Linked DNA regions of Homo sapiens: region 2 is linked to region 1. The links are contacts of gene promoters, found by promoter capture Hi-C in blood cells and fetal thymus (Javierre and others, 2016). All regions are on one chromosome and are shown on one strand. The core of a region is centred on a gene start or on the middle of the fragment in contact, and the rest is flanking DNA. Distances in the headings are between cores, read along the strand shown.

Region 1 (6,575 bases), core at 866-3,365:
AAAGAAAGAGCAGCAGAAACCACGGCTGCAAAAGGAATAAAGGGAGGCAGAGAGAAGAGAAGTCTCTGAACATGTTTTTGAGTGTCCTTTAGTTTCCAATGCACTCTTCTGCCTCACAAGGTTGCAAAAACGGCCAGGCATGAGATGGGTGGAAGAAAGCTGTAACAGAAAAGCACCCTCCCTTCCCCCATCTTCTCTCTTCTCTCCCAAAAAGAGCTGTGTTTGTCTGTGCAAACCTAGTCCCAAATATGGGAGAGAGAGAATGAATGTGTGTATGGAAGAACAATGAGCCCTCAGCTTGGTATTGTGTGTGTGTGTATGTGTGTGTGTGTGTGTGTATATGTGTGTCTGTCTGCCTCTGCCTCTTTTCCCTTCGACCTCAACAACAACAGGGAGAGCTGGAAGCCAGCTTTCCACCCATCCCAGGCCATCAAAATCAAAACTGGTTGATAATTTACAGTAGTATTAACTCAGCAAGCAAATCCATGGAACAAAATATCAACCCAAAGATGATTTTATTATTGTACAGATCCAGCTTCTCTCCCCTCCCCCAACAGACTGAGACTAAAAAGACCAGTGTACACTAGACAAAAAGGTCTCTCTTTAAATGGAAAGCAATTATGAAAACTGTTTCAAATCTTAGATGCATCAATTCCTGCTATATTAAAATGTCTATTTTGTAATTCACCAAGTTCACCCTCTTACTAGTTATCTTTTTTTGCGTTTAAAAATTCGCTGTGAAGAAGGCTATTTCACGATTCATACAAAACTACTTTCTAAATGTACCTTAAAAAAGCAACAGATACTGAAACATTTAAAGCACCCAGTTTCTCAAGGACCCATTTTACTTAAATCAATGTTTGAAGTCTGTAATCCAGAAAAATTGTAAGCAAACCTTGGAAAAGAGACAGAGGAAAATGACAATTCAACAATGAATCATTCTGTTTTCCTTTCAACAACTTCTCAAGCAACCAGTTTCAAAGGAAGCCTGCAACACTTTTCCCCCCTCCTAGCAGACACACATACACACGTGTATGTAAAACTACGAATCTTTCCATCATCTTAAAAATTAGTAATAAATAGAAGCCACCCTCCTTCAGAGAGCAGAACTAAAACAGGATAGTAAGAATTCTATTCTGCTGCAAGTGACTTTGGGTTTCATAATTTTCTAATCACATACAGCTGAGAACTAGAGATTGGGAGCACAAAGAGGAAATCTTCCCCCAATGAGAAAATGATACTTTAATAATAAAGTCCTCCCCCCAGCACCCCGAAATCCACAAACATTCAAGAAATTTACAGTTTCAGTCCTTGACTTCCTTCCCTTCCAGTTTCAGCCAATAATGTAGTCACATGAAATAGTTTAACCTCAAACAAGTAGAACAAGAGCATGAATAAGAGGCCAAGAGAGAGCAGGGGTCAGAAGGCACGCAGGAACGGTCACCTGGCCCGGACAGGACCAAAGAAGTGCCCTGCCCTCGCCCGACTCCCCTCGACTTCGGCTTCGACCCCAGCCTTTTCTTCCTGCCTCCCCCCGGGCGAGTGACTGCTTTCACGGCCGACCCTCTCTGACCACCAGGACGAGGGGCCAAAAAAGAAAGCACACGACCCGGCGCGGGCAAGTTGGACACTTACCTTCCCCTAAAGCGCTACACCATCAATAGTGAGGTGTTCGCGGCCCAGCTCCGGGGAAAGTGGCGGGGATGGGGCGGGAGGCCGCGCGGAGGCTGCGGGGCCGCGGGGCGCAGGGCCGAGAGGGGCGGCCCGCGGGGAGGCGACGCGGAGGGGCTGAGGGGGCTTCCCTGCCGTGACCTTTCCTGCGACTTGAACCTAGGCTCCCTCCTCCTCGGTCGGGCAGATCTTTCAGAAGCAGGAGCCCAGGATCATGTCTGGTTTTGTTTTCCGAGGGCGAGGGGGCTCCCTGAGGATGATGGTGATTTTTTTTTTTTTTTAATCCTCAACTAGGAGAGAAAATGAGGCAGAGACAATGTGGGGAGCGAGAGAGGGGAAAAGGACGGGGGAGGAGGCGGGGACCGAGGCCCAGCGGGGCGAGCGTCTCGGGGTGTGCGGGAGGCTGAGGAGGCTCCGGAGCGCGGAGGGTTGCTCGCGAGCGTCTGTGGGAACAGCGGCACCTCCGCGATGGTGGCGGAGCCGCGGCGGAGCTGCTGCACCGACCCGCCGCCCACTCCCCGCTCGGGCCCGGCCCACCTCGCAGTATCGCGCCCCTCCATTGGTACAGCGCGGTGTGACGCGGCCGGGGGCCCGGCCAATGGGAGGCGGAGGAGGCGGGATCTCTTTTTCCTTTTTTTTTTTTTTTTTTTTTTTTTTTTAATCTTTTTAATAAAATGAGCAGAGAAGAAGGCGGAGAGAGGCCGAGCCTTGACAACGCCGCGGCCCGGGGCTCGAGGGCTCGCGCTGCAGGCGGCGGCCAGAGGCGGTGGGCTGGGCTCCCGCCGCGGGCGCGTCTTTGTGAGAGTGCGAGGCCGGCCCTCCTCCGCCGCCCGCCGCGCTCCAGTACCGCCCCCCGCGCCCCCCGGGCTGGGCCGGGCTGGCGGCGCGGGCAGGTCCCGGGTGGGGTGGGGGGAAGTCCGGTTGATCTTGCTGTTACCCGGGTCTTAATTGGCCTTTTCAGTCATTAGGACGCGGATCCATGTTGCTGCGGGCTACAGAGTGGGTGTAAACCATTCTCATATGGACTCTTTCGAAATTCTGATGAGCGGCTTGTAATATTTTTCAAATAGTGTACATGACAAAAGATGAATTACAGAAAGAAAAATAAAAGTGATAAGTCGCACTGCTTATTTGAAAAGAATAAAAAGTGTCATGAAGGCATAAAGGAGAGACTGTACAGGTACAGAAGGGATTTTAGAAAGAGCAGTGTACAACTCTATAAGGTACGTGTGAAAAAAAATCTAAAAAGAGGAAAAGACCAAACATCACCTCTTTTTCTTTGAAGAATGAAGTATTGTGTCCCACTTCCCGAAAGCCTGATAATCACAGGGTCTATCATGCTGTAAAGGGAGTAGGGGCAGGCCAAATGATCATATTCTAGTTCATATAATTTATGGGATTGAGGGGTTTGGAAATTTCAATTATGATTAGCAGTTTTTGAAATGCACATCATGTTTATTGAGTTCTTTCACAGAGCCTGGCACGAATCCAGGGTGAATCATCAACCTATTGTTGGTTTGTTAATATTCTGTAAATGCTTATTGGTGTCCTTATACCATACACTCTTCCCGAAGGAGTTAAGGTCCGTATAAAATAAGGGGTAGAAAACGTAGCACAAAATAATTCACTCATCTGTTTCAAAAGAAGTGATAATTTTCTCCTTGGAAAATCTATTCAGATTATAATTTCCACATTGAATTATTCATTTTTTTTTTTTTTCTGAGAGGGAGTTTCACTCTTGTTGCCCAGGCTGGAGTGCAATGGCGCGATCTCGGCTCACCGCCACCTCCGCCTCCTCAGTTCAAGCGATTCTCCTGCCTCAGCTTCCCGAGTAGCTGAGATTACAGGCATGCGCCACCACACCCAGCTAATTTTGTATTTTTAGTAGAGATGGGGTTTCTCCATGTTGGTCAGGCTGGTCTCGAACTCCTGACCTCAGGTGATCCGCCCGCCTCAGCCTCCCAAAGTGCTGGAATTACAGGCGTGAGCCACCGCACCCGGCCCACATTCAATTATTCTTTAAAGAATAATTTGGACTAACAGATACTATTGGACCATGACCCAAGAGATCTTAAAAAAAAAAAAAAAAGCCATAGATCCTTGCCATCACATTTCTGAGTAACTTTCAGCAAGAAAAATCCTCTTTGCTGGAGTTATGAAATGGGGAAACTAGTTAATATCTCTTTATATATCTGATAATGTGAGAACTGAATTTTAAAACCTAATAAATTCAATAAACTGCTTCCAACATTCTAGATATGGATAGGACTATCTGACTTCCTGTTTGGAAATGATGAGGGATAAAGTATATCAGTTAGATGGCTTCACTTTCCATCAAAATCTCTATCTACAGGAGCATTCTTTCTTTTTTTTCTTTTTTTTTTTTTTGAGACAGAGTCTCGCTCTGTTGCCCAGGCTGGAGTGCAGTGGCACGATCTCAGCTCACTGCAACCTCCACCTCCTCGGTTGAAGCGATTCTCCTGCCTCAGCCTCCTGAGTAGCTGAAATTACAGGTGTGTGCCGCCACACCCAACTAACTTTTGTAATTTTAGTAGAGATGGAGGTTCACTATGTTGCCCAGGCTGGTCTCGAAACTTACAGGAGCATTATTTCTAATAAAGATTCAGCTCTGTGGTAGACAAATGGACAATGCACTGCCATCCAGCAGGGAGGAGAGAGGCTCTCCACGTTAGGAAATAACATTTACTATGGTATTAGGGATTGGCCGTCACTTTCATTTATCCATAAAAATGTAAATTTAGAAGTCCAGAAATGCCACATAGTTACAAAGCATAATATATGGTATCAGACCACAAAATTAGCAAACTAAACCCATTTAACTGTAACAGTCCCACGAAAGAATTGTGGTCCAGCCATAAAGCCGGAGAGTACTGGACCTCCTTCCAAGGATCTGAGAAGCTGATAATGCAGTAAAATAATCTTCATCGTTAAGAACAACTATTAAACTATTGATTGAAAGCTTATGTTCCCAGTGCCCTAAGAAACATGTTACATTCTTTAGCCCACTTTTTCTCCCCATGAAGTGTATTATTATTATCTCTTTTTTTTTTTTTTTTTTTTTTTGAGACAGTTTCGATCTTGTTGCCCAGGCTGGAGTGCAATGGCGCGATCTCAGATCACCGCAACCTCTGACCCCCGGGTTTAAGCGATTTTCCTGCCTCAGCCTCCTGAGCAGCTGGGATTACAGGCATGTGCCACCATGCCCAGCTAATTTTGTATTTTTAGTAGAGACAGGGTTTTTCCATGTTGGTCAGGCTGGTCTCGAACTCCCAACCTCAGATGATCCGCCCGCCTCAGCCTCCCAAAATGCTGGGATTACAGGCGTGAGCCACTGCTCCCGGCTTATTATCTCCATTTTAAAAGTCAAGGAACTGGGGCTTACGGAAGTTAAAGAACTAGCTGAAGATTAAAGACGTAAAATACCGACTTGGATTTTTTTCCCATATTAAATTTTTAAAAGTTTCCTTATTCTCTTTTCAGCAATATTTTTAAGTGGGAATTAAGTAAATAAAGTAGTTATTGAATCTGAAAATATCAAGGACTTTTTTTAGTTATTTTATGTATCTTACTACAGGTAAGAAGTGATTTTTTTTTAAATATACAGAGATCACATCAGAGCTGTATTAAAGGAAGATGGAAAATGGGGATTATTTAATAAATGATATTGGGACAACAAGATAGCTATATGGGGAAACAAAAAACAACAACACACACCCACTAGATTCATATTACTCCTAACACACCCCACCCCCAAAATCACAGGTGGATTTCTTTATTTTTTTAATTGAAATTTTTTTTTTTTGGAGCCCAGGAATTTGAGACTACTCTGAGCAACATAATGAGACCCCCATCTCTACAAAAAAATTTTAAAAATTAGCTGAGTGTGATGGCACATGCCTGTAGTCCAGGCTATTTGGGAAGCTGAGGTGGGAGGATGGCTTCAGCCTGGGAGGTTGAGGCTGCAGTGAGCTGTGATCATGCCACTGCATTCCAACCTGGTGACAAGAGTGAGACCCTGTCTCAAAGGAAAAAAAAAAAGGAAGTTAGCCCTTGCTTATACGTGTTGAAAATGTTTCTCCCCAGTCTGCCTGTTTCTTGCATTGCTATGGTGTTTTTATGCCTTATAGGGATGTGAAATATTTATGCAGTAAAATTTATTGGTGTTTTTTCCTTTATGGCGTCTGGATTTCCTGCCATGTTAGAAAGAGCTTCTTCAATCCATGATTTGAAAAAGTTTTAGTGTTCTTCTAATACTTTTGATTTCATTTTTTAAAATCATAAAAATTTGGCATAGACAAAAGAATATACATTATGTGTACATAGGTTGAGGGGGATAATAATAAAATAAACACCAGTAAACTCAACCTAAGAAATTGTGGTTTAGTGGTTTCACTTTTTTAATCATTTATTTTAATTTTTTTTAGAGACAAGGACTTTTTTCTTTTCATATCAAGCATGGATAATTCTTATAATTAAAAAAAACCATTCAAGTTCTTTGAACATACAGCTGGTAACTAGTCTTCATAATTCACCAGCAGTACTCAAGCTTTAGAACATGTAAATTATTTTCCCCTAAAATGCCTTAAGCAGAACTAGGGTGCTTTAGCAGGCCTTGTAGCAGACTGAAGCTTGTTTCTAGGCATTTTCTATGAAATTGGCTTCCAAGTTTATGTAGTGCAAATATAAGCCAATAACGAGCCTCAGCTATATCTCCCGTTGCACTTTTTCAGGTTGAGCCTCCAGCAGCACTTCTTTCTTCCCCACTGCCAGTTCTCCGAGCTCACCTTGCATTTACCCACAGCGGGTTTTCACTTTATAATTTATTGTAAATCGAAATTTCTCCCTCTCCAGTTTTTTCCCCTTGGGCCAGGTAAGTAACCCCT
Region 2 (7,083 bases), core at 1,700-4,199, 810 kb before region 1:
CAGCTCTCTCTCTAAGACAAGTGCAAACTAGTACCTGGAAAGGAGTCCTTTCTTTCCATTCCCGAGCCCCCTCCCCACACCAAAACCCCACCTGCTGCCATGTGGCGGGGACGCTGAGGAACACTGACTATCACAGAGCTGCCTTAATGTAAATGATTTCCTCAGGTGCAGAAAAACATACACACCAAGTATGGTTTGCCACTCTGAATTCTGGACAGATAACATGACGGCAGAAGTAAGCTTGTTTAAACACGCTCTAGTAATAGCTTCTTAGTGGCTGAGGTTAAAGCATAGTGAAATTTGATACATTCAGGTGAAAAGCAAACATGAAAATTTGCATCCTCCCAGCAATCAAATTACATTAGACATGGCTAAATCATGATTTCATGTAGTTAACAAGCAGTGAAGGGTGAGGCCAACCAAGTTCAGACAAATTGAACCTTCTACCCAATTCTACTCTCCTCTCCTCCTTTCTCCGAATAAAACCCAATACTCCTCTTTAACAAGTTGTATGATTCACATGCCGAGAGGAAAAGGGCCAGGTTGTTTGTCAATTGATCTAGTCTAAAGAAAACAAGTCCTTGACTGTATTTTAGTTTGAACAAAACTTATTTTCCTAAGGATAAGAATACCTCGAAACTCTAGTACTAAGTTAGAAATTCACACTATGCCTCCTGGCTTGTCACGCACTTCCAATTTGAAAATATGGAACCTCAAGGCTGTAGATATTTGAGGCCCTTAAGAGAAAAACAATTCATGTTTTTTTGTGTGTGTGTTTTTTTTTTTTTTTTGAGACAGAGTCTGGCTCTGTCGCCCAGGCTGTAGTGCAGTGGTGTGATCTCGGCTCAGTGCAACCTCCACCTCCTGGGTTCAAGCAGTTCTCCCTCCTCAGCCTCCCGAGTAGCTGGGACTACAGGCACACGCCACCATGCCTGGCTAATTTTTGTATTTTTAGTAGAGATGGGGGTTTCACTATGCTGGCCAGGCTGGTCTCGAACTCCTGACCTCGTGATCTGCCCGCCTCAGCCTCCCAAAGTGCTGGGATTACAGACGTGAGCCACCGTGCCCGGCCATGAATTCTTAAAAGTGTAAAGGACTGTTTTTATTAGAGCAAATGCAAATTAACCTTGCAGGAAACCATGGCAGATCAAAGTTAACATGCCTTAATTTTATCTTTTCAATGACAATGGCCATAATGCATTATTTACATGACTCTCTCTCTCTCTCTCTCTCTCTCTCTCTCTCTCTCTCTATATATATATATATATTTTTTTTTATTTTTTTATTTTTTGAGACAGAGTTTTGCTCTTGTTGCCCAGGCTGGAGTGCAATGGTGCGATCTCAGCTCACCGCAACCTCCGCCTCCCAGGCTAAGTGATTCTCCTGCCTCAGCCTCCCAAGTAGCTGGGATTAATAGGCTCGTGCCACCACACCCAGCTAATTTTGTATTTTTAGTAGAGATGGGGTTTCTCCACATTGGCCAGGCTGGTCTCAAGCTCCCAACCTCAGGTGATCCGCCCGCCTCGGCCTCCCAAAGTGCTGGGATTACAGGCGTGAGCCACCATGCCCAGCCTGACAACATATTTTTAGAGTTTTATTAGCTTTTTACAAAATGCCAGAAGGCCAAAATTAATTTCTAAATTAATTTGAAAAAGTAGCACCTAAGTTCATTTTGATAGTAACTACTTCCAGATAAAATCCTACATGAGTATTGTGCCAATGTCAGTTTCCTGATTTTGATAAATTCTATGTCATCACTGGGGGAATCTGGGTAATGGGCATAGGGGATCTATTTTGCAACTTCTTTTGAGTGTATAATTACATCAAGATGAAAAGTTAAAAAAAAACTATATAAGAAATACAAAACTGTGCTAGGAGCTTTACTTATTTTTAAGAGAAAAGCTCCAGTATATCCTAAAACTATTAATTATGTGATGAAATTAAGAACCAAAATAGAGACTAGCTTAAAATACATGTTGATTCTTGAACCAGTAGATATATGAATATGGCTTTTCTCTAGTCAACTGTGAATTGCTCTGGAAGATGAAACTCTATGGCCTTTTATTTTATTTTTTAGGGTCCCTAATAGTGAAGAAGCATCCTCTTTTTTTTTGAGACGGAGTTTCACTGTTGTTGTCCAGGCTGGAGTGCAGTGGCTTAATCTCAGCTCACTGCAAATCTCCGCCTCCCGGGTTTTAGTGATTCTCCTGCCTCAGCCTCCCAAGTGGCTGGGATTACAGGCATGAGCCACCACGCCCAGCTAATTTTTTTGTATTTAGTAGAGATGGGGTTTCACCATGTTGGTCAGGCTGGTCTTGAACTCCTGACCTTAGGTGATCCACCCGCCCTGGCCTACCAAAGTGCTGGGATTACAGGCGTGAGCCACCGCACCCAGCCAAGAAACATCCTCTTAAAGAGAGTTCTTACTTTTCACAGCATAGTTAAGACATCTCTTGAGACCTAGAGATGGATAAGCAACAAACAGTATTAAACTTCCATTAGTGTGTTTTTGGAATTTATTAAAAACAAGAGGATACACATCACATACTTGACTGTTGCAGCATAAGAACTGACAAAATTGGCTGGGCGCAGTGGCCCACGCCTATAATCCCAGCACTCTGGGAGGCTGAGGTGGGTGGATCACCTAAGGTTAGGAGTTCGAGACCAGCCTGGCCAACATGGTGAAACCCCGTCTGTACTAAAAATACAAAAATTAGCCGGGCGTGGTGGCAGGTGCCTGTAATCCCAGTTGATCGGAAGGCTGAGGCAGGAGAATCGCTAGAACCCTGGAGGCAGAGGTTGCAGTGAGCCCAGATGGTGCCACTGCACTCCAGCCTGGGTGACGAAGACTTTGCCTCAAAACAAAAAAACAAAAAACTGACATTTACTATTAACCCAAATTTTGAATTCACTTGTAAGAGAGCCCCCTTATCCTCGGCTTCTGTTTGCTGCCACGAAATGGTATCTACTAACCAGTCCCTTAGGTGTGCATAGCACTACAGTGCGCTCTGGCATGGCCTCACATATACTGACAAGGAACTTAAAGCTCAGGGAAGTGAAGTGAATCCTTCCTATAGAAAGTGGGAGGTCAGCCAGGCGTGGTGGCTCACACCTGTAATCCCAGCACCTTGGGAGGCCGAGGCAGGCGGATCACCTGAGATTGGGAGTTCAAGACCAGCCTGACCAACATGGAGAAACCCTATCTCTACTAAAAAAATGCAAAATTAGCCAGGCGTGGTGGCGCCTGCCTATAATCCCAGCTACTTGAGAGGCTGAGGCAGGGAGAATCGCTTGAACCCGGGAGACGGAGGTTGCGGTGAGCCAAGATTGGTGCTACTGCACTCTAGCCTGGAGCCTGGGGTGACAAGAGCAAGAAGACTCTGTGTCTAAAAAAAAAAAGGGAGAAGTCAAGACAGGAACCTGGGTTTTAGGCCAGTACTTTGTTGTGTGACATAACCATCTTTGAGAACTCAACAGTGCATAAAGTGGCAGCTAACACGCAGCTGATTTCCTATTGGCATCTTACTTAGCAACAGAGAAGAGTGTCAGAAGTCCCGGGCTTGACCTATGCCACGAGAACTCTTTAGAATTAACTTGCTTTGTGTGCTGGTTGAGGAATAAGTTGACAGGCAGAAGGTGCTAGGGGATGTGTTCCGGTGGTAGTGTGGCATTGGCATGGCGGCTAGGCACATTTGCTTAGCCAGGAAAAATCAGGGAAAAGGTATATGCTTGCAAACACAAGTAAAAATACAAAGGTAAGATGGAAAGCAAACAGAACTAATGAAACATATTCTTGACCATATGACCAAGAAAAGGTAGTGGAGGGGAGGGGAGAGGCAAAAAGTCTCAGAAGCAGACAAAGTTCTGCAAGTGCTGCATTCAGACATCCAGTCAGCAGGGACTTACTGCACCCCTGGGTCAGGCAGTGCGTCATGACAGTGCACAGGAAGCTGAGTCCCTGCGCTTGGGGAGCTGTCCCTCTTTGGCCAGGGTGCCGCGCACACGGGCCTGCGTGATCTGGAACTTAACTGTTTCTACTACTCCCAGGTATCTTTTACTGTTTTTCTCCATCTCCACTGGCCAAGGCAGTCTTGTCTCAGTTCAGGACTACAGTAGCCTCTGTCCATTAAGTCTTCCCGTTTCCTTTTGCTTCTCTCCGATCTGTCCTCCACACAACAGCCACTGTCCTCTTAAATCACATCACCTTCCTCTCCTGCTTAGGATCTTTCAGTGGCACCCACTACACTTTTCCAGGCCCCTCCTCCTCCTGACAGCCACTTTCTGGAAGCTGCTCAGCTGTTTCCTACTTCAGGGTCTCACACATTGTCTGCTTCCTCCACTGGTAACATGCCTACCTGTTCACTCCCCTCCCTCAGCTTCCATTCTAACCCTTCAGAGCTTAACACCTCACAGGTCCCATTATCAGTCCTCATTGCTCCCATTGTTCATTACCTTTTTATTTAGCACTTAATATAAGATGTAATCATAATTAACATTATCTGCTTTAAATTCCATAAGGGAAGGGGATGTGTTTTCGCAGGATCCAGCATGGGGCTGGGATTTAACAAATGTCTGTTGACTGAACGTCCCAAGCCTGCATCTTCATCTGTAAAATGCCATAAATGACACCCAGCCTTTAGATGACAAAAACAGTTCTCATGTATGGGGCCCTCACTATGTACCAGATAATATAGTTTATATGCAGTTGTCACAAAATAATTCCCACCTCTCTGCCCATTTTACCAATGAGAAAACTGAGCTACAGGGATTTAAAATAATCTGCCTCACACAGAATTAGAAAGGGATGAAGTTGCAACTTCAACCCAGATAATTTGAGCCCTCACTCTTCACTCTGGAGAGTGGCAAGACAGTGCAGGTGCCCGATGAAGGTCGTGGAGGGCTCCCACCCTCTCCCAGGGGACAAAGGAGCCTGCAGAGGACAGTGAAGAGAACCAGGCACAGGGCTAGGTGACATGGGACTAAGCCCCCTCACAAAGAGCACTCCAGCCCCTGCCTCCATCCAAAGGCTGCCAGGAGCCCATTTGTCCACTGTGGACTTGCCATCTCCATGACAGGCCAAGGCAGGTGCAGATTCCTTGGGTGGCCTTAAGCAAGAAGCAAAGCCTGCCAAAGGGCCCAGAGTAACCGGGACCTCGTCCTAAAAATCAGAATGAGTCAAACCAAGTCTACACATCAGAACTGGTTTCTTCTGTCACGTTCTCCTTGATGTGGACTCCCACCCCCAACGTTGTTTCTGATAGTAACCCCAGAATCCAGTTCTCTTTCAGTTGTTAAAGGTAAAAACAAACAGCTCATTTCCACTGTATACTTTCATAATATGTGAAAAAGATTGCACAAATTATGTTTCATTCTAAAGAATAAGAGTTTCAAGAATACATTAAACTTCAAAGAATCTTCGCTTGTGCTTAAAAATAATGCTGTCAAATTGCTTCATACACTTTATAAGACTTTAGGCAAGAAACATTACTAATGGTATCATAAATAAGTATTATAACTTTATTAAAATGAAAAGACAATATTCAAAATAATGCAACAAAATGAATAAAATCCTTTGTCCAATACTGTACACATAATGCAGAAATCAGTGCATTTTTCTTAAGCATGTTTTAACCTTCATTTAGTTCATACTAAAATATAATAAGCTTTAAATAGCTCAAATAATATTCAGCAGTTTAAACTGTAAACAGCTTGTTTAACTGTTAAGAGAACATTGCAGTAATGTACCTCTGTTAGTGAGCACCTTCTCTTCTGTGCTTATCTCTTCAAGATAAATACATGGAAGGATGTGAAAATCGGAACACCAACTATGTGTCTCACTGCATCTAAGTGAAGCAGCCACAGCTGTGAGAGTTTTCAAAGCAGAAAGATGCTGATGTGACCTCTGGAATTCAGACATACTGAGCTATGGGTCAGAAGTGTTTTACTTAAAAAGCAAACAATCCCCAGGAAATACTGAATAGGAACCAGCAACACAAGGCCAGCTTGTGTTGTATGTTTATTAATACAGTCTAAAAAAAAAAAGCAAAACCACAACACACATCCCCAAACAATAACTCTCAATCACATAGCTAATTGCTTCATTATTTTGTAAAACTGACATCCTAACACTGGCACCTAGAATACTTTTCCATCTGAGTCTAACGTACCCCACTGCCTCTAATACGGCCCGCACTACGATGAGCTACTTCAGTGGGTGGGACCAAGCAGGAACTGTAAGGGAAAATTAGTCACTAGTTCTATTATCGTTTTATTTTTCAAGATGTGTGACAGGTACAGGTGACAATATGGTTGCCAAGTAACCTGCTCTCCCTCCCTCAACAAGACGCAACATGAAACCTGGAAGTATGAGGCCTTGGTATGATTTTTAACCTAAGCAGGTACACCCATGGTAAAGAATGGATACCCTGCCCTCCATGGAAAAGATTGCCTGCAAAAATAAATGGAACAAAATAGAAAAGGCCTAAAAGCCAGAAATCTTCAAACTTACTAAACAAAAATATTTTTTAATGATTCTGATCTAAACAATACTGTATCTTCTTCCATTTGCTCAATTTTCAGTCTATCAGGACTCATTTCTCCAGCTTGAGTTTATTATTCTGAATATATATTACTCTACGATAGTAACTAATTGGTTAACCTGCAGCTATGGTCTATGGTTATACCACAAGTTTATATATAGGTATGTAATGTATGCATATATAAAAAGCTTCCCCATCCTCCCCTCCCCACCATCACATCTTTAAATTATAGACTTGTAAGACTTTTTTCCAACACTAACAAAGTCAGGGTTTCTCAGCATAACAGCATCTCACAACTGCTCTAAACCTTCCACATGAAGACAGAGAGTTCAACTATTTTATTTTGCAATCTAAGGGATTTTTCTCTGCACTTCAATCAAACTGGAAAATTGAGAACCATTTGCTCCTATGTAACCTCTGCTGAACCATGACCCCAAGGTCTAAGGAGAAACCACATAGGATAAATGTTTACGCTTCACGTGGCCACCCAGATCCATTTTTGTTTTTGAGTCTGGCTTTTCTGTGGCTGAAGATATACCGCAGT

Evidence for each region. The method cuts DNA at HindIII sites, captures the fragments that hold promoters and counts their contacts. A CHiCAGO score of 5 or more calls a contact.
Region 2: a fragment that was not itself captured here is called in contact with the fragment with the promoter of RERE in region 1 in 1 of 17 cell types (naive B cells); the score reaches 6.7 in naive B cells.

Annotation. Positions count from the first base shown.
Region 1 is chr1:8,815,525-8,822,099 of GRCh38, forward strand. It overlaps RERE (arginine-glutamic acid dipeptide repeats), which reads right to left and starts at 2,116. Exons shown (of 23, transcript NM_001042681.2): 1 at 1,636-2,116. RefSeq lists silencers at 1,714-1,773, 2,024-2,323, 2,424-2,653, 6,416-6,575 and an enhancer at 2,066-2,360. The HindIII fragment of the contact is 6,239 bases long and covers 1-4,649 here.
Region 2 is chr1:8,006,231-8,013,313 of GRCh38, forward strand. ERRFI1 (ERBB receptor feedback inhibitor 1) reads right to left here. Exons shown (of 4, transcript NM_018948.4): 4 at 5,497-7,083. The coding sequence ends at 6,980. LOC124903834 (a long non-coding RNA gene) reads left to right here. Exons shown (of 2, transcript XR_007065451.1): 2 at 1-503. Among named protein-coding and RNA genes, the nearest start is that of ERRFI1, 17 kb to the right of the region's middle. RefSeq lists a silencer at 3,399-3,693. The HindIII fragment of the contact is 5,423 bases long and covers 239-5,661 here.